Linked DNA regions of Homo sapiens: all the other regions are linked to region 3. Evidence: promoter capture Hi-C in 16 types of primary human blood cells and fetal thymus (Javierre and others, 2016). All regions are on one chromosome and are shown on one strand. The core of a region is centred on a gene start or on the middle of the fragment in contact, and the rest is flanking DNA. Distances in the headings are between cores, read along the strand shown.

The links. Contacts are between HindIII fragments. The CHiCAGO score rates a contact against its expected background, and 5 or more counts as called.
Region 1: a fragment that was not itself captured here is called in contact with the fragment with the promoter of S100A13 in region 3 in 2 of 17 cell types (M0 macrophages and erythroblasts); the score reaches 7.4 in M0 macrophages.
Region 2: a fragment that was not itself captured here is called in contact with the fragment with the promoter of S100A13 in region 3 in 1 of 17 cell types (total B cells); the score reaches 6.0 in total B cells.
Region 4: a fragment that was not itself captured here is called in contact with the fragment with the promoter of S100A13 in region 3 in 2 of 17 cell types (naive B cells and total B cells); the score reaches 7.1 in naive B cells.

The regions. Positions count from the first base shown.
Region 1 is chr1:154,177,125-154,183,127 of GRCh38, forward strand. The region is part of intron 2 of TPM3 (tropomyosin 3); the gene reads right to left. Among named protein-coding and RNA genes, the nearest start is that of TPM3, 12 kb to the right of the region's middle. RefSeq lists enhancers at 3,069-4,065, 5,039-5,665, 5,780-5,999. The HindIII fragment of the contact is 2,058 bases long and covers 1,292-3,349 here.
Region 2 is chr1:154,205,832-154,211,790 of GRCh38, forward strand. It overlaps LTAP1 (lipid transport auxiliary protein 1), which reads right to left. Exons shown (of 7, transcript NM_001098616.3): 7 at 889-1,817. The coding sequence ends at 1,622. It overlaps CFAP141 (cilia and flagella associated protein 141), which reads right to left and starts at 502. Exons shown (of 4, transcript NM_001010979.3): 1 at 444-502. The coding sequence starts at 476. The HindIII fragment of the contact is 1,373 bases long and covers 1,342-2,714 here.
Region 3 is chr1:153,625,827-153,632,239 of GRCh38, forward strand. It overlaps S100A13 (S100 calcium binding protein A13), which reads right to left and starts at 1,679. Exons shown (of 3, transcript NM_001024211.2): 1 at 1,657-1,679; 2 at 494-707. The coding sequence starts at 646. S100A1 (S100 calcium binding protein A1) reads left to right here and starts at 2,608. Exons shown (of 3, transcript NM_006271.2): 1 at 2,608-2,670; 2 at 4,683-4,836; 3 at 5,872-6,213. The coding sequence starts at 4,696. The coding sequence ends at 6,015. RefSeq lists enhancers at 1,101-1,926, 2,753-3,576. The HindIII fragment of the contact is 11,281 bases long and covers 1,150-6,413 here.
Region 4 is chr1:154,229,224-154,235,037 of GRCh38, forward strand. UBAP2L (ubiquitin associated protein 2 like) reads left to right here. Exons shown (of 27, transcript NM_014847.4): 5 at 5,368-5,536. Among named protein-coding and RNA genes, the nearest start is that of UBAP2L, 11 kb to the left of the region's middle. RefSeq lists an enhancer at 3,962-4,461. The HindIII fragment of the contact is 3,253 bases long and covers 16-3,268 here.

The DNA of each region.
Region 1 (6,003 bases), core at 1,071-3,570, 550 kb after region 3:
GAAAGCAAAAGAATGGAATATTGTTGGGATGCCTACTCACCAGCCCTTCAACTTGTGCCCCCGTACTCCTTTTTTAAGTTGGCTACAAGGAGCTGCTTCTGGCTAAAATTATCTGCTTTGATAGCTTTACAAAAAAGAAAGAACATTTCCACCACACCCACTACCATTCCTCCAAATTTCTGAATTTTCTCCTTTCTATTCCTCCAGCCATCCCCTTAGCTTCACCCTCTAATACAGCGACAATCTTCCCCCTGGCCTCCATCTCACAATGAAGTATATAGGTTAGAGTCCAAGTAAACCCATCCTGGATGGGTTTTCTCTAAGAAACAAGGAAAGAAGGAGGCAGCCTGCAGGTGGATGGATAAATTCTAATGGTAGGAAAACCTCTTTCCATGACTGCCTCCCCGCTACCTTTACTGGTGGGAGGTACCCTGACTGCAACAGTATACAAGAATTTAATATGCCCCGCACACCACCCAGTTCAGATGCTTATCCAAGTGCCTGGTAAACACGATCTCTCTTCTATAGCCCAGATTGTGCCTGAATTCTATTACCCTGATTTCTTCCTGGCAGGCAGGAGTTGGTGCAGCTATAGAAACAGCCTGGGCCACTAGCTCCGATGAGGAAGAATATAGACCAAAAGACTCCTTTTTAACCATCAGGACTGGCACAAAAACTTCCACATACAAACATGAGAAGCTGAAGAGACTAGGAAGGGAAGCAGAGGGCTGGGGCTACAATCTAGCCACCAGGCAAAGAAAATCGAGAAGTCAACATAAGCTGAAATCATTAAGAAACCATTTGTGCCTCTAACTACACTACTCAAAACACCACAAAGACAAGTATTCTCTGCTTCTGCCTCTTCCAGAAAAATAGATGTTCTCTGTAACAACACACATTTCTCCTCACAAACCCAACAAGGCCATGGATCAAGAGCAAGTCAGGCTATCAGGCAAGACCTAGGAGACACTGCTAGTAAAATGACTTACCCCCCTCAGACGAAAAATACAACTAGATTTAGAGGAAGCTCATGAAATGTAAGACATCATGCAGCTCACCAGTAGTTACCCAAACTGGAGTAGAAGATAACAGGCTATGGGGCGGGGGTGTACAGTTGCCATGACAGCAAGCTGGCTCAGGCAGTTTCTCCCACAAATCAGCATTTACAATAGAATTCTTAGCAAGGCTGAAAAGGGAGAGGGGGAAAACACATCTTGGTGCCCTCCTAAGAGCATGCACACATGAACAAGCCTGTATCAAAAGCAGAACCTGAGATGGGAGTCCTAGAAAAAGCTTCAGAGACCCCCTCCAGGGTGGAGTGGTAGGGAATGGGACCTTGCCTTTCTCTTTTCTCCTAGCACAGAGGATCAGTTCTCTTTACAATGAAACAAAAGCCTGCAGAATCAAGATCTGATACTTTGTTTAAAGGAACAAGGAAGACAAGCTGACTTTTCCCTCATGAGTCTATGCACAGTGCCTGTCCCTTTCAGGTCAAATAATACCAATGGGTACCAAGAGATTGAACAGGCCTACTTTTTGCAGACCAGGCTACCTGTGGCCCTGGGAAACGTTAAGCTCTGCACTTTCCTAATCATCTTAGGTTTTAGCATGCCCATCCAGATGCGGTTTTGGTGTTTCAGCTGACCTATCTCTGCCCAGTGTGGAGGATATACAGTACTCTGTGGTTCTTCCCTTCAAGTAATAATAGGATTCTCCACTGCCCAGGAAGCAAAGATCCTGGGTGAGGGATTGGGGAAAGAGTAGAATGCCCCAGCAACTCAGTCACATTACCAGATGGCTGACAACACCTTCGGCTATCCTCCACTCCAAAGAGATTTCCCAAATATGTCAACCCCTCCAGGCAAGAAACTGACAGTGTGATGGTACTCTCAGGCAGAACAGGGCCAAGGACAGAAGGGGATTAGCCTAAATCTGGCTTTCTGCCACACTGGGGTTTCTCTTATTAGATAAAAGCCACAGATAAAATTCAAATGAAAGAGTATCAGAAAGTTAGGCTTGAGCCCTGTGAGTAAAGGACTATTTGAGTTCACTGTGCTCACAAATGCATTACCCAGGGAGATACCGTGTCCTTGGGGAATTTAAACTTCACCAAAGGGGAGGCAAGTTGGAAGGGAGTAGAGCTATCTGCCCCACAGTAAACAAAGGCGGAGCCTAAGCAGGGGTAAAGGGCTATCTGCCTCTCCCCTGTGAGTGTGTGTTCTAGTACTGGGGAAAGAGAAAGGAAAGCAAAGCAACCAAAGAAAGGTTGCTTAGTCCACCAGGCCCACGAATAGAAGAGAACCACACAACAGTCAAGCATTCTAACCTCTCCAGAGACTAGGAATTTAGGATTAAGGCCAGAATCAAAGCCCACTCCCTCGGTAGTACTCTTAAGGTTTTTGTTATTACTTTTTTTTTTCTTTTTGAGGCAGAGGTAGTGTGCTGACCTTACACTCCCGCAGTTGACCCCTCACTCCCCCAGTGCCGATACTCGCCCAGGCTGGAGTACAGTGGCATGATCCAATCCTGGTTCACTGCCACCTCCGCCTCCAGGGTTGAAGCAATTCTTGTGCCTCAGCCTCCCAAGTAGCTGGGATTACAGGCATGCGCCACCATGCCCAGCTAATTTTTTGTATTTTTAGTAGAGATGGGGTTTCATCAGATCCACAGGTGGACCTCAGATCCACCCGCCTAGGCCTCCCAAAGGGCTGGGATTACAGGTGTGAGCCACCGCACCCAGCCTCTTAAGTTTTTTAGACTAGAAAAAAATTAAAAAGAGAAAAATATCAGGGACAATTAGGAGAGAGTTATTAAAAACAGATAAGGTGAACTGTACATTTATAAATGGTTAAAATGGTAAATTTTACATGTATTTTTATCACCACTACCACAAAAAAAAAGAGATAAGGAAAAAGACTGCATTTAAACATTATGTTGCCATCTGTTTCCATTTAGACAGAAGTAAAAAGGAAATACAGAACTGAAAGTAAATTTGACAAGGTGCTACATTATAAAAGACCAATTTCCAGGCCGAGAGCAGAAAAGAAAGATGGATCCTAGAACACCAGTGTCTCAGTTTTAGACTCATCTAGCTTCCCAACAAGGGTGGCTTGGATGTTCACACAAAGTAACCAGGAAAATAATTAAGTGACAATCCCACTAACAGCATGAGATACCATCAGAGAGTGCAGTTTCCCGCTCCAGAGGAGGGAGGAGTCTGCAAAACCCACATTCCAGAATGCCTTAAGAGGATAACAGGTAGCCCAAGCAACCCCCCTCCCTTCCCACAGGTGTCTCCTCCTCAGTAGGGGTTCAAAGTTCAGCAGAGCAGCAGAAAGTCAAAAGATTAAGCTTCTTCAGGCTGGGGAGTAGAAGAAATGATTTCATCAATATTTAACTATAACTCTACTTCCCCATTCTGAGGACTTCCTCACTAGACCTCAGCTCAATAAGCAAATTTGGCAGGCTCTGAGTGAAAGTAGCTTAAGAAACATCACCCCAGGACAGGCGCAGTGGCTCATGCCTGTAATCTCAGCACTTTGGGAGGCTGAGGCAGGCAGATCACTTGAGGTCAGGAGTTTGAAACCAGCCTGGCCAACATGGTGAAACCCCATCTCTACTAAAAATAAAAAAATAAAATAATAAAAAAAAATCGCCGAGTGTGGTGGTGGATGCCTGTAATCCCAGCCACTCAGGAGGCTAAGGCAGGAGAATCACTTGAGCCTGGGAGGTGGAGGTTGCAGTGAGCAGAGATCGTGCAACTGCATTCCAGGCTGGGCTACAGAGCAAGTCTCCATCTAAAAAAAAAAAGAGGGGGGATGGGAGGCAGGAATCACCCACCTTAGAACTACTCCTAGAATGTCCATATTTAAATACTGAGCCTAAGATTCTGCAGCTCAACACATGGCCAGTTCCTCTGTCTTCCCCTTTAAAGCTATCTGGTCTCCAGAACAAAGGAGATGAGAAAGTGCCACTGGCCATAAAGAGTCACCCAGCCAGTCCATCTCACTTGCACAGATAATAAGAAGTTGTTGGCAAACTGAACAGAGGAAAAAAATCTACCTAGAAAAAGGTGTCTGAGGAAGACAACAAGCTCCCATCCCAGCATCTCCATGACCACTTATAAAAATAAGTGAGTATTCCAACAATCTTTAAGTATTTAAACTGGAGGGCAGCTGTCCCCCAATTACCATCCTTTTCTGAAATCCACCCCTCCCCCTCCCAAAAACATTCTCAGTTATTTCCCAGAGGAGCAGCCAAAAAGAAAAACAAAAACAAAAACTTACCAAGGGAAAGAACAAAGAACAAAGAATAAACCACATGAGTACTTTCACTGGATCTTGAATTTTAGCAACAGTTACTTTACTCTCTCAAGATCCTCCAAAACAAAGCCTCAACTCGTATCAGCTCCATCTATTAGACTGCACCCTAGACCTTGGAAAATCTTATGGCTTACACTAAAACTAATCAGCCACTTTTAAACAGAAAGACGTTTAAAGAAATCACTAGAATAGGCTGGGCACGGTGGATCACACCTGTAATCCCAGCACTTTGGGAGGCAGAGGTGGGTGGATCACCTGAGGTCAGGAGTTCGAGACCAGCCTGGCCAACATGGCGAAACCCCGTCTCTACCAAAAATACAAAAAATTAGCCAGACTTGGTGGCGGGCACCTGTAATCCCAGCTACTCAGGAGGCTGAGGCAGGAGAATCACTTGAACCCGGGAGGCGGAGGTTGCAATGAGCCGAGATCATGCCATTGCACTCCAGCCTGAGCGACAGAGTGAGACTCTGTCTCAAAAAAAAGAAAGGAAGAAAGAAATCACTAGAATCACTGTTCACTCCACCAACATTTTATGTTTCCACTTTCAGTTGAACAAATATTCCACTAGAGTCACCTGGAATTCATTATTGTCTCCACCAAATTGCCCAAGTCAATCAGAAACCTTGAGACTGGCACACCATCTGATTCTCTGCCATACACTCGCTTATCAGCTCTGCTCGGAAGAAATGTTCTTAACCAGTTCGGCTTGCACTGATCACACTTCAGCAATAAAGGCCTGAATCTGACAGAAGTTCCTGCCTTCCAGGTCATTGTGGGTAGGGCCAGGCAAGTTTGGTTGGCTCCTACATTTGCACTAACGTTGAGAGAAGTACTATCCCCTCCCCTGCCGTTTCACGTAGATTCAGAGAGTGGGTGTAGCAGCTGCAAGAGCACCCCGTAAGAGGAAAGGGCCCCTGGCCAGAGGATGAGAGGCGGTCCTGTGGCCTCGAGCTCCTCCAGGGAGGGAGGGCACCGCGCTTCCTCTCAGCCAACTGCTGCCTCATTTCCTGAGCAGGAGGAGGGAGCGGAAAAGCTGCCAGCAGGCAGGCCGGGGTCTTTCCGACGGTTCCCACCCCAAAACCCTCACCATTTCACAGAAGGTTCAGTACTGCCCCTCCCCGAACAGAGAAGCACCCACCCACTCTTACCCCTTGGGCAGGAAACCTCAAGCCAGAGCAAAGTTCTCCCACCCTCCATGGGGAAGTGGGGGAGGGAGAAGCCGCTGAGCCCCTCCCACGGCCGCGCCCGGATCGGAGGCACTGAATGAATGAGGTGGAGAAAAAAAGAGGAGGAAAGCCACACCCCAAACCCCGTAAGGCTCAATTTCTTCAAAGGTCAAGCCTGCTCGCCCGAGCACTGTTTCCCCCTCGTCCGCTTGGTGTCCTACTGGTGCTGAGCCCCACCCATCCTCCGAGATCCCAACTTCATCTCCGAGCCCGCCGGCCTTCAGAGGACCGTGCTCCACGGCAAAAGGGACCTTATTCCGCTTGCCGGATACTCCAGCGCCTGCCCCTCCCTCATGAGCCTCACCATCTCCGTACCTGTTCCCGGGCCCGCCTTTCTCCCTCAACTTCTCGCTGGAGGCGCTCAGCTCGCTCCTCTGCATCATCTGCCTGCTGCTGCAGAACCTGGATCTTGCGCTTCACCGCCTCGATGGTGGTGATCCCAGCCATGGTGCCCA
Region 2 (5,959 bases), core at 778-3,277, 580 kb after region 3:
TAGCTGAGATTATAGGAATGCACCACCATGCCGGGCTAATTTTGTATTTTTAGTAGAGATGGGGTTTCTCCATGTTGGTCAGGCTAGTCTCGAACTCCTGACCTCAGGTGATCCGCCCACCTCAGCCTCCCAAAGTGATAGGATTACAGGCGTGAGTCACCGCACCCAGCCACATAGACCTTTTTGAGAAAGCAATTTCCTGGGGGGAAATAGGGAGAGGAAAGCTCTACTTTCAGAATGGATCAAAGAAAACACGCAGGGGTTGGATAGAACACATATTTGAATACCTACTGTGTACTAGACACAGCCTCCCACTCCTGTTACTAACTACATTATACCCTTGTTACATCAAAAGCCTTTCCCAGTAAAAGATGCACTTATAGTAAATTGATCTGGAAACTTCATCAAACTTCAACCCAGCCCCTCCTTCCAACTCTGCATACCTCTTCTACTTTTGTCATCTTTTCCACAGACATGTCTATAGATTTGCTTGATACAGTCTGAGGAGACTGACAGGCTCCTCTGTTTAGTTCAGTAACCAAGGTTTCAGTAGTCATAGTAACATTTACACCTCCAACAATAACCCTGGGCCTAGGAGTTGATTGGCCACCTGGCCTGTTGCCCCAGAAACCTTGAGAGAATCCTTGTTCTGCAGCCTTCTGTTGGTGACACAGGCATCTATGAGCAAGGGCCACAGTCCTGATTTTAGGATTTCTTGTGCTAGGGTCCCAAGGAGTATGTGTATGGTCGTAGGTCCAGGGTATGCACACAGTCCCACCAATTCTCTGGAGGCAAATCCTCATGCCCTATACCCTGTTAGAAATGTGCAGATAACATTATCAAATGCCTGTTTTATTAAAAGACAACTATAAAGGACTGATTCATACGTTTTATTTGATAATAGTTCATTTTATTAAATAATTTATAAAGTCAGACCAGTGCATTGGGCTTGTTAGGGGAAACCATTCCTTCCTACTGTCACATAGCCTGGCAGATTATATCAGGTGCCAAAACATTCCCTTTTATTCAATTTATTAATGAGAGTGTGGAATTAAAGTAGATCCTTGCATGTCAGGAAAGCTGCAACACATCTGGTTTAAGTGGAGCACAAAGGTAAGTTATTCCACATTCACCAACTTCCCCACTTGACCTCCCACCAGTTCCTGTCTGCTTTTTCCATCAATCAACTCTAAGATGCCCTAAACCCAAACAGTTCCCATTCAACTGTGCACAAAGGTATAGATATGGAAGACATCTCACTCCAACTCTCACCTTTGGAATTAAATAAACCTGGAACAGGGAAGGTGAACTATGGCTGAAACCAAGTGAAGATTTTTAAGAAGCTTTGACAGAAACATTAAGAATAACACCTGAATGCAAATCCAGAAAAAAGCGCTACTGGGGGAAAATAGTCTTAGCCAATGTTCTAAAAATGCTCATAAGGAAGGGTTGGGGAATTACCCTTTAGACACAAGCTCTAAGAACTCTGGATACAACGGGAACTTGGATGGATACAGTCTGGGCCTGCTGGGCCAGATGTTCCGAGGGCGGCCCGGCAAGCAGCCTGTCTTGCACATTGCAACTGACTGGCTTAATCTACGGCAAGAGTCCTTCAGCTCCGTCACAGAGTACTCTCCAATGTGTTATAGTTATCCTTAAAGCTCTTCAATTCAAGGAAGTGCTTGGCACGTTTACTCTTCTGACTGGAGGGGAGGTATGTCACCTGGATGGTTGTTGGGGAGACCTCAGGGGACTGAGTTAGGTCTTTGGCTGCTGACTGGTGATGTCGCTGAGAGCTCCCAATTCGTGCTTTAACCCTGAAGAACAGAGAGGGGAGGTCATTGACAGAATGAGGACTAATCAAAGAAATCAGGGCTTATCCCAGGCCATAAATGCAGCAATAGTCACAAATAGTTATTTGTGTCCTATCTGTCCTATTTTGTAAACTAGTTACTAAAACCCCATCTAGTAGCTTAGAAATACAAGAGGCTGAGCGCGGTGGCTCACGCCTGTAATCCCAGCACTTTGGGAGGCCCAGGCAGGTGGATTGTTTGAGGTCAGGAGTTCGAGACCAGCCTGGCCAACATGGTGAAACCCTGTCTCTACTAAAAATACAAAAATTAGCTGGGAGTGGTGGCGGGTGCCTGTAATCCCAGCTACTCGGGAGGCTGAGGCAAGAGAATCACTTGAACCCAGGAGGCAGAGGTTGCAAGCCAAGATTGCGCCACTGCACTTCAGCCTGGGTGACAGAGCAAGACTCCATCTCAAAAAAAAAAAAAGTAGCAGAGAGGCTGGGCATGGTCACTTATACCTGTAATCCCAGCACTTCAGGAGGCAGAGGCCAGAGATCGCTTGAGCCCAGGGGAGTTTGAGACCAGTCTGGGAAACAAAGTGAGACCCTATCTCTGCAAAAAATTAGCCAGGTATGGTGGCAAGCACCTGTAGTCCTGGTTCCTCAGGAGGCTGAGGCAGGAGGATCGCTTGAACCCAGAATTCGAGGCTGCAGTGAGCCATGAATGTGCCACTGCACTCCAGTCTGGGCGACAGACTGAGACCCTGTCTCTCTCTCTCACACACACCCTAAAAAAGTAGCAGCACTCCAGCCTGGGTGACAGAATAAAGGCCCTGTTTGGGTACCCTGACACACACCTACTCATACCAAAAACAACTAGCAGCAGAGAAACCAATTTCCCAGAGTTCTTGCCTCTGGCTCAAGCTTTTTTTTCAGAGACAGGTATCCCCAATATAGGTATCACCTTGTTTTGCAGATTAGGAAACTAAGGGTCCAATAATTAGCTTGTATGAGGTCACAAAACTAGTTAAGTGACAGACCTGGGATTCAAACCTAAGTTTGTCAGATTTCAAAGCCTATACTCTTCACTAAACCCAATGAACATTCCTAGAAACTACAAATCAAACATAATTTTTTGTTTTTGAGATGGAGTCTTTTTCTCTGTTGCTCAGGCTGGAGTGCAGTGGCACAATCTTGGCTCACTGCAACCTCTGCCTCCTAGGTTGAAGCGACCTGTCTCGGCCTCCCGAGTAGCTGGGGATTGCAGGTGCATACCACAATGCCCAGCCAATTTTTCTATTTTTAGTAGAGACAGGGTTTCACCATGTTGGCCAGGCTGGTCTTGAACTCCTGACCTCAGGTGATCCACCCGCCTCAGCCTCCCAAAGTGCTGGGATTACAGCCGTGAGCCACCATGCCTGGCCTTCAGAAATAATTTTTAAAAAGATTGTGGTAAAATACATGTAACATAAAATTTACCATCTTAAGAATTTTTAAATGTATGGTTCAGTAGTGTTAAGTATATTCACAGTGTTGTGCAACCAACCTCCACATTTTCATCTTGCAAAACTGAAACTATACCCAGTGAACAACTCCCTATTTCCCCCACTCTCCAGCCCCTGCAACCATCATTCTACTTTCTGTCTCTGAGTTTGACTACCTAGGTATCTCATATAACTGGAATCATCTAGTATTTATCTTTCAAAGAAAGTGAATTTTGAACAGGCTTCTGCTGACTTCTAGACCAAATGCCCTTTTCCAGCCTTTCTACATGTTCATTTTCATCAGTGCTCTAAGCAGTTTTTTTTTTTTTTTTTTTTGAGACAGTGTCTCACTCTGTTGCCCAGGTTAGAGGGCAGTGGCATGATCTTGGCTCACTGCAACCTCTGCCTCCCAGGCACAAGTGGTACACGCACCTCAGCTCCTGAGTAGCTGGGACTACAGGTAGGTGGTCGCCACCACTCCCAGCTAATTTTTTTTCGAGATGGAGTCTTGCTCTGTTGCCCAGGCTGGAGTGCAGTGGCGCGATCTTGGCTCACTGCAAGCTCCGCCTCCTGGGTTCATGCCATTCTCCTGCCCCAGCCTCCCACGTAGCTGGGACTACAGGCACCCGCCACCACGCCCGGCTAATTTTTTTTTTTTTGTATTTTTAGTAGAGACTGGTTTTCACGTTAGCCAGGATGTTCCCGCTCTCCTGATTTCATGAACCGCCCGCCTCGGCCTCTCCAAGTGTTGGGATTACAGGCGTGAGCCACCACACCTGGCCTAATTTTTTTATTTTTAGTAGAGACAGGGTTACACTATGATGCCCAGGTTGGTCTCAATCTCCTGGGCTCAAGTAATCCACCCATCTCAGCCTCCCAAAGTGTTGGGATTACAAGTACGAACCACTGCAGCTGGCCTTCTAAGCAGTTTTTACTAGGACCTTTCATCTTTTCGAGACAGACTCTTGCTCTGTCACCCACGCTGGAGTGGCACAATCTCGGCTCACTGCAACCTCTGCTTCCTGGGTTCAAGCAATTCTCCTGCCTCAGCCTCTGGAATAGCTGGGATTACAGGCATGTGCCACCACACCAGGCTAATTTTTATATTTTTAGTAGAGATGAGGTTTTGTCATGTTGGCCAGGCTGGTCTCCAACTCCTGGCCTCAAGTGATCCGCCCACCTTGGCCTCCCAAAGTGCTGGGATTATAGACGTGAGCCACTGCTCCAGGCCTTGGCCCTTTCATCTTTTAAGACAACGTAGCTCATTTTTAGGGACAGAGAGAAGACAGGAGAGACATACCCCTTAAGCTCTTGAAAAAGAGCAATATTCAACATAGCAGAAAACAGATTATTTTTATGGCTGGTAACTAACTGTTTATTATTATTTTGAGATGGAGTCTCGCTCTGTCGCCTAGGCTGGAGTGGAATGGCACGATCTTGGCTCACTGCAACCTCCACCTCCCAGGTTCAAGCGATTCTCCTGCCTCACCTTCCTGAGTGGCTGGCATTACAGGTGCGCACATCATCATGCCCGGCTAATTTTTGTATTTTTGTAGAGATGGGGTTTCACCATGTTGGTTAAGCTGGTCTTGAACTCCTGACCTTAGATGATCCACCTGCCTCGGCCTCCCAGTGTTGGGATTACAGGTGTGAGCCACTGCGCCCGGCCTAAGTTTTTACTCTAGATTGGCTTTCCTTTCTCGCCAAGAACTTTGATTTTAACATTTGCATGAAAATACGAGACTATGTTTAGTGTGTATTAAAAACATTCCCAAACAAAAGCCATGAATCCTCTCCTGTGACACAAATGCTCAACAGCTGACTCTATAGCGATGGCCTTTGTTTCAGACATGGTTACTAATACTTTAAGTGGTAGTAAAAATAGATTTTTTTAATTTTTAATTTTTATTTTTTTTTTGAGACAGTCATGCTCTTGTCACCCCAGCTGAAGTGCAATGGCATGATATCGGCTCATTGCAACCTCCACCTCCCGGGTTCAAGTGATTTCTGCCTCAGCCTCCCGAGTAGCTGGTATTACAGGAGCCCGCCAGCATGCCCAGCTAATTTTTGTATTTTCAGTAAAGACGAGGTTTCACCATGTTGGCCAGGCTGGTCTTGAACTCCTGACCTTGTGATCCACCCTCCTCGGCCTCCCAAAGTGCTGGGATTATAGGCGTGAGCCACCGCGCCCGGCCAAAAATAGATGTTATTTAATTCTTTTTTTTTTTTTTTTTTTTTTTTTTTTTTTGAGATGGAGTCTTGCTCTGTCACCAGGCTGGAGTGCAGTGGCGTGATCTCAGCTCACTGCAACCTCTGCCTCCTGGGGTCAAGCGATTCTCCTGCCTCAGCCACCCGAGTAGCTGAGATTACAGGCACGCACCACCATGCCCAGCTAATTTTTGTATTTTTAGTAGAGACAGGGTTTCACCTTGTTGGCTAGGATGGTCTTGATCTCTTGACCTCATGATTCGCCTGCCTCGGCCTCCCAAAGTGCTGGGATTACAGGCGTGAGCCACCGCGCCCGGCCCAATGTTATTTAATTCTTACTTTTATTGGGCCAAGACACAAAAGGGACGCTGAGACTCTGAAGAGAAGGAATCCCTGTGTGTGCTGAAAAACTATTCCCTTTGCTAGGCTACACCAATTTTGACATTTTATTGGGCTAAACAAAAGACAAGAAAAA
Region 3 (6,413 bases), core at 429-2,928:
TATATGCATGGACACACAAACACACACATGTACACACCAGGCAAGAAAACTCACAACCGGGTCAGGCGCAGTGGCTTGCGCCTGTAACCACAGCACTTTGGGAGGCCGAGGCGGGTGGATCACCTGAGGTCAGGAGTTCGAGACCAGCCTGGCCAACCTGGTGAAACCCTGTCTCTACTAAAAATACAGAAATAGGCTCGGCGTGGTGGCACACACCTGTAATCCCAGCTACTCAGGAGGCTGAGGCAGGAGAATCACTTGAACCCCGGAGATGGAGGTTGCAGTGAGCCAAGATCACACCACTGCACTCCGGCCTGGGCAACAGAGTGAGACTTTGTCTCGAAAAAACAAAAGAAAACCTGCAACCATTGACACATGCAGCCACCCACACCCTTTCTTGTGGTCACCTCACCGTACTCGGCACCATCACGTCCTAAACACAGTGTCCCATAATCATCATCTCACAAAATCTCAGTCCCAGACTTCTGCCTACCTTGAGCAGATGGGGCAACTGCTGGGTAACCAGCTCTTTGAACTCGTTGACGCTGAGGCTATCCTTCCGGCCCTCCTGCCTTGCAAAGGTGAAGAAGGTGGTGACCACGGTCTCAATGGACTCCTCTAGCTCTGTCAGTGGTTCTGCTGCCATTAGGACCCTGAGGCCAAAGCTGATGTCCTCAAGGGGCTAGCTGACCTTTGTCAGGGCTGACCTGTGGAAGAGAGAAGGAGCAGAGAGGGAGAGTCAGGGAGCCCCAAGATGCAGGAATGGTTCAGAAGGTCCCTGCCTTGGTGTTATCACATCAGTCTCAGCCTGGAGGGGGCATATGGGGAAAGAGGGAGAGGACAGGGGTTGAGCTTGGGGCAGCAGACCAGGCAACGGCATCTCAGTTTTGGTGGGGGCAGGAGATTCAGCTCCAGAAACCCCCTCTTCTGTAGGTCTCACAATCCGGGATCCTTTTTAAATGTCTGTGGCTTAGGGACCCCTCTGTGGTGATCCCTCGATCTGGAGACCCCTCTACTTGAGAGGAGGTCTTCAGTTGAAGGTCCTTCTTGGAGTCCTTCAAGTCTGGTGGCCCCTCTGTGGCGTGTCTGTCTCAAGAATCCCTTCTTGTCTCACCCAGACTCACAGGTCATAAGGTTGTTTGTCTCCAAAGCTTGTTTATGTTGGGCCCTGGTCTCCGGCCACTCGCATCCGCCCACACACACTCTAACCGCTCCTCCCAGCAGAGAAGCACAGGGTCTGGCAAATGTCCCCTGTGGTCAGAGCTGGCTCCGTCTGAACAGACCCATTTTCTCTGCCCCGCTCCACCCTTACCTCTCCTCAGCGGCAGCAGGGCAGAGTGCTGAACCCAGGACCCCACAGATCCTCCCCGCTCCTGTCTCCCGGTGACAAGGGTCCTGGAACGGGGCGTCTCTGACTCCCTGCTCCAGGACGGGTTTAGTACAGGCACTCACAACCCCCTGGGGTGCGGCGGGTGGGGCTGGAAGAGGCATTCTCTTTTCTGTCCACCCCGTCACACACTCCTGCACGCGCTGTTGCTCGATCATCCAAAGCTCCTTCCTGAATTCCTGTCTGAGCTGGCTCTGGGGGAGGGACCTGGGAGCCCAGGAAGAAAAAATGATCTCCAGCCTCCCTCCAGGGTCAGCCATGAGACTCACCCGGCAAGGAGATGGGGTAGAGTGAGCTGGAGCCTCAGGGCTGAGGTTTATAAGCAGCGGGGAAGGAGGAGAGAGCTGCTTCCAAGCCCGGAGGTGTCAAATTTCCGTGGTCGATTCTGAAGACCAGAGACAGCCCAATCAGGCCGCTTGCCCTGAGCCCTCAGGTCTGGACCCGGGCTCCCTGCCAGCCACACGAGCGCCCCCACTTGGTCAGGGAGAGGAGCTGCCTGGACAGATCTCGTTCGGCAGGGGTCCCAGGGTCCTAGTCCTCTCAATACTGGGGGCTGCTGCCACCATACCCATGTCTAATCAGGAGTGTGTATGCTGAGGGGGGAAGAGGGAGGCAACCAATCAAGGGAGCTCAACACTGAGAGGCCCAATCTGAGACACACACAGAGGCCCCTTGGAATGAGATCCCACAAAGGATGCTACAGACCAAGATCCCTCAGAGAACCCCAGGCTGAGGCCCCACACACAGAGGGGGATCCAGGTTGAGACCCCCAGAGAAGAGTCCTGGATTGAAATCCCTCTGTGGGTTCTCAGACTCCCAAGACTAAGTTTCTCACTGAGGGTCCTCTCAGTGAGGCCCCATGGAGGAGCCACAGACTAAGACCCCCTCAGCAGAATTCCCCCCTTACCGGGCTCAACCAGCACAGCCAGCCACAGGTACTGCAAGGCCCAGCTTGGGGTAAGACATCCAGTGTCCCTCCCAGGACCTCCTTCCCACCTCTTTCCCCTGCACCATCCACTGCTGCCTGGAGAGAAAGGAACGGGGCAAGCAAGGCTGGGAAAGAGACAAGGGCCGCCTGTTCCAGCCCAGGAGACAGAGGGCGCCTCTGTCTGCTCCTGGCCCCTTGCCCCACAGGGTGTTCGTCTGTGAAGGGGTGGAGTCGGTGGGGGGGTCAGCGGGGGAGGGACTGTTGAAGACAGGTCTCCACACACAGCTCCAGCAGCCACATTTGCAACCTTGGCCATCTGTCCAGAACCTGCTCCCACCTCAGGCCCAGGCCAACCGTGAGTACCCTGCCCCACTGGGCTAGTCCCTGGCCTGCCAGCTTCAGGGAGAGGGGTCTTCAGAAGGGCTCCAAGAGGCTGGGGACCATAGCACTGTGGAGCACTGAGGATCTGGGAGGAGTCAGTCAGGGTGAGGGCAGTTTGGGATTTGGGGGAGACAGGGTTTGGAAGGTGGTGATGAGAGACAAATGAACTGAAGGTCGGAGAGAGAGCTGGCAGCTCAGCAAAGGAGGAAGCCAGTGGGGAACCCACCATGAGCTTCCTGACCGCCTGGCCCTCCCACAGGGAGCCCTCAAGTCCCTGCCAAGGCCCCCTCTGTCTCCCAGGTGTTGGGAAGGGTCCCAGCCCTCCCCTGCCTCGCCTCCTGTGGGGTAAGAAGAGAGCAGATACAACAGCTGTTTCTGCCCCCACCTCTCCTGCCAGCCTTAGTCTCTGCCACCCCCACCCTGCCTTGCCAAGAGCTCAGGTCCCGGGGGAGTCTGGGGGTGGCAGGGCAAAGCTCCCATGATATGGGGAAGCAGAGATGTAGGGTGCTGTGCCCCTTCCCAACTCGACCTCCACAGGACCTCCCCTTTCTCCTCCTCCCATTTTTGGCCCAGACCTCTTGACTCCTCTTTCCCCCCATTCTTACCTCTTTGTTTCCCCATCTCCCCTGCCCCCAAGTCCTCTCAGAACTGCCACCACGTAAAATCCCAGGCTGCTTTAGGGCTCCAGGTGACCTCCAGCTGCCCCTCTGGCATGGAGCAGGTAATCAAGCTACCAGCACCCCTCCCTCAAGCACCCCTTATCCCCTCATCAGCCACAGCTTGGGTTCCATCTCCCCCATGTCTCTGTGACAACTGCTTCTCAGGTCCGGAGTTCAGATGACACTCACAAGGGCCCCATTGAAGAACTGGGATGTCATTCGATCAGGGGCCATTGTCCAGCCCCCTAGGCCTGGGGAAGGATGGGGACATCTGATCCGAGACACCTGAGCTGCCCCCTCTGGGGTTGTGGAAGGCCAGACTGTCCCAGGGCCAAGGGAAAGAGGCCCCCCGGCTTGGCAGTCTTCTCTCTCAACAGACCACTCCTTTCTCCTTTCTTCTCCTACTCTCTCCCAGCCCCTTGAACTCAAAGGACCGCATGCTTTCAGCCCTTTCTCTCCCCCAACACACAGCAGCCCCATTCCCCTTGCTCCCACTATCCCCGAATCAACCAGGAGTGAGCAGTTGCAGGGACAACGCCTGCAGGTCTCCTCTCCCACTCCCTGGGAACTCTGGCTCCAAGGAAAAGGCTCAGACATTCCTCTCTCCCCTTCTGCCACCCACCAGATGGAAGGGATAATTTTGCAGAGGCAATGGGAGCATATCCCAAAGAAGCCAAAATGACATGTTCAGGAGAGAACAGAGTTGAAGGACCAAAAGGGGCCCCCAGCTGCTGACAGGAAACTCAGAGTCAGTGAGACCTCCCTCCCCCAGAAGGCGTACGCCACCCACTGGGGCTGCCATCCCCTCTACCAGGCTGACCGAGGGTACCAGACTGACTCCTTGCTAGGGGTGGGCAGCAGAAGGAAGGCTGTAGTGGACACCCCAGCCCACCACCCTCAACAGCAGAGCTTGGCTATGCTAGACAGGCAAGGTCCAGGGTAAAAATAGAGCCAGAGGAAGCATGGCCCAGTCCTGTGACCACCCCTGCCTGCCCCACCCTCCTCAATCCCTGCCTGGGCAGCCACTGCAGACATCTACCACAGGCCTCTGGAGCCAGCCCAGCTCCAACTGCTCTCTCTCCATGCCCCAACCCTGATTCCCTCTGGCTGGGGTACAGACTGAGGGACACAGAGAACAGGCCTGCACTTAGGTCTCTTGGGGTTTCCCTCACATTGTAAAATCTCAGGGAAAGATCAATTGCAGTAGGGCTCTAATCCCACAGCTATTTGAGCTGTCAGCCAGGGCCAGTCCTGAGGGTTCCCCTCACCTAGACCCCAGGTACTCCGGGCCTGGTCCTCAGCTCACTTCCATGATGGGGGTGGGTAGGTGCACTGCTGCAATGGGCTCTGAGCTGGAGACGGCGATGGAGACCCTCATCAACGTGTTCCACGCCCACTCGGGCAAAGAGGGGGACAAGTACAAGCTGAGCAAGAAGGAGCTGAAAGAGCTGCTGCAGACGGAGCTCTCTGGCTTCCTGGATGTGAGCATAGAGTGGTGGAGTGGGAGTGGAGTGGGTGAAGGTTGGGGGAATGGGGTGGACACCCCCTTGCTATCTCCCCACCCCACCTCCAGCTCAGCCTAGCCTCTTTCTTTCCTTTCCCAGGCTTCTCTCCTGGGTTTTTCCAGGCTCCCCTACTCCTCCTGGGTCAAGTCAAAATGCCCTGGTTTATTGATCACCTGTTAAGTGTTAGGCCCTGTGTAGATTCATCAATAATAAGACACACAGACTTAGAAGGGAAAGATTGACACTTAAAAGTAAACCATGAACTCCAGGAAATACACAGAGCCTTAACAGATGTACCAGAAAGGGTTATGAGAGATTATTAACCTGATTGAAGTCAGATGGCTTTCCTGAAGAGGTGGCACTTGAACCATGGATTTCCATTGGAAGATTATCTGGGTAAATGCAGACATTTTAGGAGGAGGTAACTGAATGAACAAAAGCATGGGAGAAAGAAGAATGTGGAGCATGTCAGTAGTTTCATTCAACTGGCATGAAGGATGTAGAAAACTAGGCTGCTAAGGCTAACCAGGGCCCCAAAGTAAAGAAGCCTCAGGATACGGTAGAAAGTGCACCGGTTTTGAGGTTTTATTGGACTGGGTTCAAATTCCAGCCCTGCTACTTTCTAGCTGTGGGACTTTGGGCATATTTATTTAACCACCGATTACCAATTTGTTTCTTCTCTAGAATGGAAATAATGAAACATACCTCACATTATTTGTATTAGAATTAAATTAGACAGTGCTTGTAAAGCTCCTAGTGTAGTGCTTGCTTTATTATAGGCACTGAACATACGGTAACTGGTGTCATTATTATTCATTCTGCCAGGTGAAAGAGCTTATGCTGTAGGCAACAGAAGCCCTCAAGACCTTTGAGGAGGCCTAGAAGAGTCCCATAATTCAATGCAGTTCCTCTCGCTCATCTTTGCCTCCTGCTCCTCAACCACCCCCTTGCCTCTGACTCAGTGCTGTACCCTTCCCTATACACCTCCCTCTTCCTCTCCTCCCACCACAGGCCCAGAAGGATGTGGATGCTGTGGACAAGGTGATGAAGGAGCTAGACGAGAATGGAGACGGGGAGGTGGACTTCCAGGAGTATGTGGTGCTTGTGGCTGCTCTCACAGTGGCCTGTAACAATTTCTTCTGGGAGAACAGTTGAGCAGACAGCCACATTGGGCAGCGCCCTTCCTCTCCACCCTCCCAGACCTGCCTCTTCCCCCTGCTTCCACCTCACCCCACTTATCCCTCTCCATAACCCCACCCTTGCCCACCCCACCCCCACCCCCACCAAGGGCGCAAGAGTAGCGGTCCAAGCCTGCAACTCATCTTTCATTAAAGGCTTCTCTCTCACCAGCCATCCGATGTCTGTCTCCTCTGGGATCTGGAAGTGGGTGGAGACGTGAAGACTGTTCACTCTCAACTCCCCTTATTTGGGGAAGTGTCTTATTTAGAAAGAGGTCAAGGTGCATTACATCTTCCTACTTGAGGAATGCTCAAGGTCCAGAAATGTGGGGGTTCAAGGTTCCAGTTGGAAGTCGAGGAGACATCAGCTTCTCA
Region 4 (5,814 bases), core at 392-2,891, 600 kb after region 3:
GGTAGCAGAGAAACAAGCTTTGTAGCCTGCTGACCATCCCTGGAGATGATAGGGGATATCTTGGAGGATCTCTTGCCCTGGAATTTAGACAAGTCGCTTTCACTTCTCCTTCCCACTTCATGAGAATTCTGTTTTTATGCTTGTCTTATGTTTGTACCAAATTGTAATCCTCTGACTGCCTTATTGATCTTCAGAATGTTCCTGCAGTGCTTACTAGAGAAATTTTGTTTTTTTAATGAGCAGTGTATTATTATTATTATTATTATTTTGAGCCAGGGTCTTACTCTGTGGCCCTGGCTGGAGTACACTGACATGCTGCAACCTCCTCGTCCTGGGCTTAGGTGATCCTCCTACTTCAGCCTCCTGAGTAGCTGGGACCACAGGCATGGGCCACCATGTCCAGCTGATTTTCCCATTTTTAGTAGAGCCAGGGTTTCTCCATGTTGCTCAGGCTGATTTCAAACTCCTGGACTCAAGCTAGCTGCCCGCCTCGTCCTCCCAAAGTGCTGGGATTATGGGCATGAGCCACCGCACCTGGCCCAGTGTATTATTTTGAAATCATTTTCATTTATTGGGTCTTATACTGGGGCTCTTTGGTTGGAATAGATATCAAAATTCATCCTTACAGATAACAACTTGTTTTTTTTCTTGAGTCAGAGTCTTGCTCTTGTTGCCCAGGCTGGAGTGCAGTGGCGTGAACCTGCTCTCTGCAGCCTCCACCTCCCAGGTTCAAGTGATCCTGTGCCTCAGCCTCCAGAGTAGCTGGGATTACAGGCATTCACCACCATACCCAGCTAATTTTTTTTTTTTGAGACGGTGTCTCTCTCTGTCTCCCAGGCCGGAGTACATCTCGGCTCACTGCAAACTCTGCCTCCTGGGTTCAAGCAATTCTCATGCCTCAGCTTCCCGAGTAGCTGGGACTACAGGCATGCACCACCATGCCTGGCTAATTTTTTGTATTTTAGTGGAGACAGTGTTTCACTATGTTGCCCAGGGTGGTCTTGAACTCCTGAGCTCAGGCAATCCTCCTGCCTCGGCCTTCCAAAATGTTAGGATTACAGGCGTGAGCCATGAAACCTGGCCTCAGATACAACAGCTTTCTGATACTACAGAGTCACTCCAGCTAAATGCAGGAGGTTTGTCAATTTCTTTGAGACAATGGGAAATAATAATGGAAAACTTTTAAAAACAATTGAATTTAAATTGGTGGGTTTTTTCTTCAAAAGTGTTATCCTGGATTAAATTTTACACTGTTGACCTTATTTGAATATTTACTATCTGGCCAATCAAGATATGCTTTTGATTTGTTTTGGGTTTACTCTAGAATAATTGTCTCCAGATTTTATGGGGGGAATCAGGTGGGGCTATTTATGTTTTTTTAAAAGTCTGAATGTTTTTTCGCAAATCACATTTTATCTTACCTTCCAGCATCTTCTGTCTAGTGCTATAAGGCTGATGTTATACAGTATCAAAAAGGAAAATAAGCTGGAGAATATAGGTTTATGTTACGAATAAACTAGCTACTAGTGAAACCAATGGGAAGCAAAGTCAGCTCCCAGGGATATTGGATGTATTTGGGTGGGTGAGATCATTTCAGAAAACTGAAGTCGCCTTTGGGAAGATAATAGTAATTCTTTCTCCTGACCCATCTTGTGCCAGCAACAGATGTGCATACAGAGGAGGGAGAAAGGTTACAGTTTCCTGAAACTTGCCAGGTTTTGAGATAGCAGCATAAATTCTAAAAGCTGTTTTGAGTCTAGCTTCCAGAGTGTTCCTGGTGTATATTTAGCTACAGGGTTGTTCTAACTTACTGTGAGCATAAAATGACCCACTAACTGTAATGTATAATAGGCTTGGGTTGGAAGAGTAGGCAGCAACAAACTACCAAGTCTTGGGTAGGTAATCTTTTTAAAACAAATGAATTAAGAGATGGGGTCTTGCCCTGTCACCCAGGCTGGAGTGCAGTAGCATGATCACTGCAGCCATGGACACCTGGGTTCAAGCAATCCTCCCACCTCAGCCTCTTTAGTAGCTGGGACAACAGGTGTGCGCCACCACACTTGGCTTTTTTTTTTTTTTCTTTTTTCTTTTTTTTGAGATGGAGTCTTGCTCTGTTGCCCAGGCTGGAGTGCAATGGTGAGATCTCGGCTCACTGCAGCCTCTGCCTCCTGGGCTCAAGCGTTTTTCCCACCTCAGCCTCCCAAGCAGCTAGGGCCACAGGTGTGTGCCACCACACCTGGCTGATTTTGGTATGTTTAGTAGAGACAGGGTTTTGCCATGTTGCCTAGGATGGTCTCTAACTCCTGGCCTCAAGTGATCCACCCTCCTTGGCCTCGGAAAGTGCTGGGATTATAGGTGTGAGCCACCATCCCCGGCCCTGTTTTCTATTTCTATGAATTTGCCTGTTTTAGAGATCTCATGTAAGTGAAATCATGTAATATTTGACCTTGTATGTCTAACTTACTTCACTTAGTGTAATGTTTCAAGGTTCGTCCATATTGTGGCATGGGTCAGAATTTCATTCCTTTTTAAGGCTAATATTCCGTTGTACATATATGTGGCATTTTGTTTACTCATCAGTGGACACTTGGAATTATCTGGAAGTTGTAGACATAATACTTGATACCCTTAAGTTCTTCAACATGCTTCCCTTAAAGGAGGATACTCTTACATTACCATAATACTATTATCAATCCTGATAAGGTTAATAATTTTGTATTATCTAATACTCAGCCCATATTCTGAAAGTGATTAGACATTAGGTAGCTGTTACTGAGCACTAGGGCCATGATTGAGTTTGATGGTAAGATAATAAAGATCTGAGGCTGTGCACAGTGGCTCACACCTGTAATCCCAGCACTTTGGGAGGCCATGGCGGGCGGATCACGAGGTCAAGTGATCAAGACCATCCTGGCCAACATGGTGAAACCCCATCTCTACTAAAAATGCAAAAATTAGCTGGGCCTGGTGGTGCCCTGTAGTCCCAGTTGCTTGGGAGGCTGAGGCAGGAGAATCACTTCAACCTGGGAGGCGGAGGTTGCAGTGAGCCGAGATCGCACCACTGCACTCCAGCATGGTGACAAAGTGAGACTAAGTTTCCAAAAAAAAAAAAAGGAAAGAAATCTGATAGTGTTGGTGTTTGTCCTGGAAGTTCCATTTGTACAGGTTTTTTACAAAAATATGTGTAAATCAAGGTATGCATTTTTTTAAAAACTTTTAAGTTTACAATGCTCATTTTCCTGAGGAAGAGTGTTTTGCAAGGGTGTTAAGCTTATTTTCCTTACCACAGACTTTCCCTCTTGCAGTTAGGAATGTATCATAGATATGTATTTTTCACTGGGGAAAGTTAAATTGGCTGATACCAATTTAGGAAATATAGGGAGAACACTGCAAGTAAAACCTGGATGGAAGGCTTTGTATAATCAGTATCTCTTGGGGTCAGGGCTGCGACTGTCGTTTGGTCTTCTTTTATTTTTATTTTTATATACTTTTTGAGACAGGGTCTTACTCTGTCACCTAGACTGAGTACAGTCACATAACCACGACTCACCGCAGCCTCAATCTCCTGGGCTCAAGTGATCATTCTGCCTCAGCCTTCAAGTGGTTTGGGTGACAGGAGTGTACCACCATACTTGGCTAATTTTTAAATTTTTAGTAGAGACCAGAGTCTCATTTGGTTGCCTGGGCTGGTCTCAGATTCCTGGCCTGAAATGATCCTCCTGCCTTGATCTCTCGACCTCCCAAAGTGCTGAGGTTATAGGTGTGAGCCACCACACCCAGCCTTACCTTTTTTTCTTTTTTTTTTTTTTGAGATGGAGACTCCTCTGTCGCCCAGGCTGGAGTGCAATGGCAGGATCTCAGCTTACTGCAACCTCCGACTCCTGGGTTCAAGCGATTCTCCTGCCCCAGTCTCCCGAGTAGCGGGGATTACAGGTGCCTGCCACCACGCCCAGCTAATTTTTTGTATTTTTGGTAGAGACAGGGTTTCACTATGTTGGCCAGGCTGTTCTCAAACTCTTGACCTCAGGCAATCCACTCTCCTCGGCCTCCCAAAGTGCTGGAATTACAGGCGTGAGTCACCGCGCCTGGCCCTTTTTTTTCTTTTTTTTTCTTTGAGATGGAACCTTGCTCTGTGGCCCAGGCTAGAGTGCAGTGGTGTGGTGCGATCTTGCGTCATTGCAACCTCCACCTCCCAGGTTCAAGCAGTTCTCCTGCTTCAGCCTCCTGAGTAGCTGGGATTACAGGTGCGCACCACCACACCTGGCTGATTTTTGTATTTTTAGTAGAGACGGGGTTTCACCGTGTTGGCCAGGCTGGTCTCAAACTCCTGCCCTTGTGATCTGCCCGCCTTGGCCTCCCAAAGTGCTGGGATTACAGGTGTGAGCCACCGCACCTGGCCACCCAGCCTGATCTTTTAAATGAAATTGCTGTGTGTGTGTGTGTGTGTGTGTGTGTCTGTAGGTAGGTAGCTCTAGTTGTTTTCCTCCTAAATTTATGGGTGAGATTAGAGAACGTGCCCAAGAGTAGAATGCTGCTCATTCATTCTGAATTCATAGGTAACTTTTAGAAACATTTTCTTTTTTGCTTTATTTGGTATGAATGATGCTATAAAAAGTTGTGGGTCACTGACTCCGAAGGAAATTAGTTTTTTCTTTTTTTTTTTTAGCCCAGGAAATAACACTTGAAAGATAGGGACCAATAACTTGGTCCTTTGACTAATATGCTAAGTGACTGAATTAGATAGAGGTCTTTGTAATCCTCTTGGAAGTGATCCCTGCAATGTTTCCTATAAGTACCTTCCCTACAAAAAAGACTTTATGGCTGGGCTTGGTGGCTCACGTCTGTAATCCCAGCACTTTGGGTGCAGTGGCTCACATCTGTAATCCCAGCACTTTAAGAGGCCGAGGTGGGTGGACCACCTGTGGTCAGGAGTTTGAGAGACCAGCCTGGCCAACGTGGTGAAACCCTGTCTTTACTAAAAATACAAAAATTAGCCGGGCATGGTGTCGCGTGCCTGTAATCCCAGCTACTTGAGAGACTGAGGCACGAGAATCGCTTGAACCTGGGAGGTGGAGGTTGCAGTGAGCCAAGATCACACCACTGCACTCCAGCCTGGGCAACAGAGCGAGACTCTGTCTCAAAAATAAATAAATAAATAAATATAAATAAATAAAAAATAAAGGACTTTACTTTTTGTAGTGATATGTATAAAATATTTAAACAGAAGTAAAAGCAAACTAATGGAAGTGTTTTAGACATGGATGCTGAGTGGAGAATGGTTAAGTCAATCAGTCATCCCAGCTTTCATCTCTAGTGTCCTGATAGCACTCCATATTGATTAGATATGAATGCTCTACCCTTCTATAGCATTCCTGGGAGATGGTCGGGAAGAAGAAGGGAGTCTCAGGCCAGAAGGATGGTGGCCAGACGGAATCCAATGAGGAAGGCAAAGAAAATCGAGACCGGGACAGAGACTATAGTCGGCGACGTGGTGGGCCACCAAGACGGGGGAGAGGTGCCAGCCGTGGACGAGAGTGTATGCATGGGGCTTTATCAAAACCAGCTGTGGGTCAGTAATGTCTAGACTCTAGGGATGTGCCAGGGCCCTGCTAGTCAGGACCTAGGAACCATTATATTATCCTTTTGCTTTTCTTGCCGTCGTCTGTTCTGAGACCTTGACATCTCTTGCATGTGGCCTTTTCTACCAACTGCCACCAGTCTGGCATGAGATTACCCTGTAGTCATTTATAAAGTTAAATTTGACTTGCAGCTCTCCATTAAGGCACATTACCATTCCCTGAGAAACATGTTCCC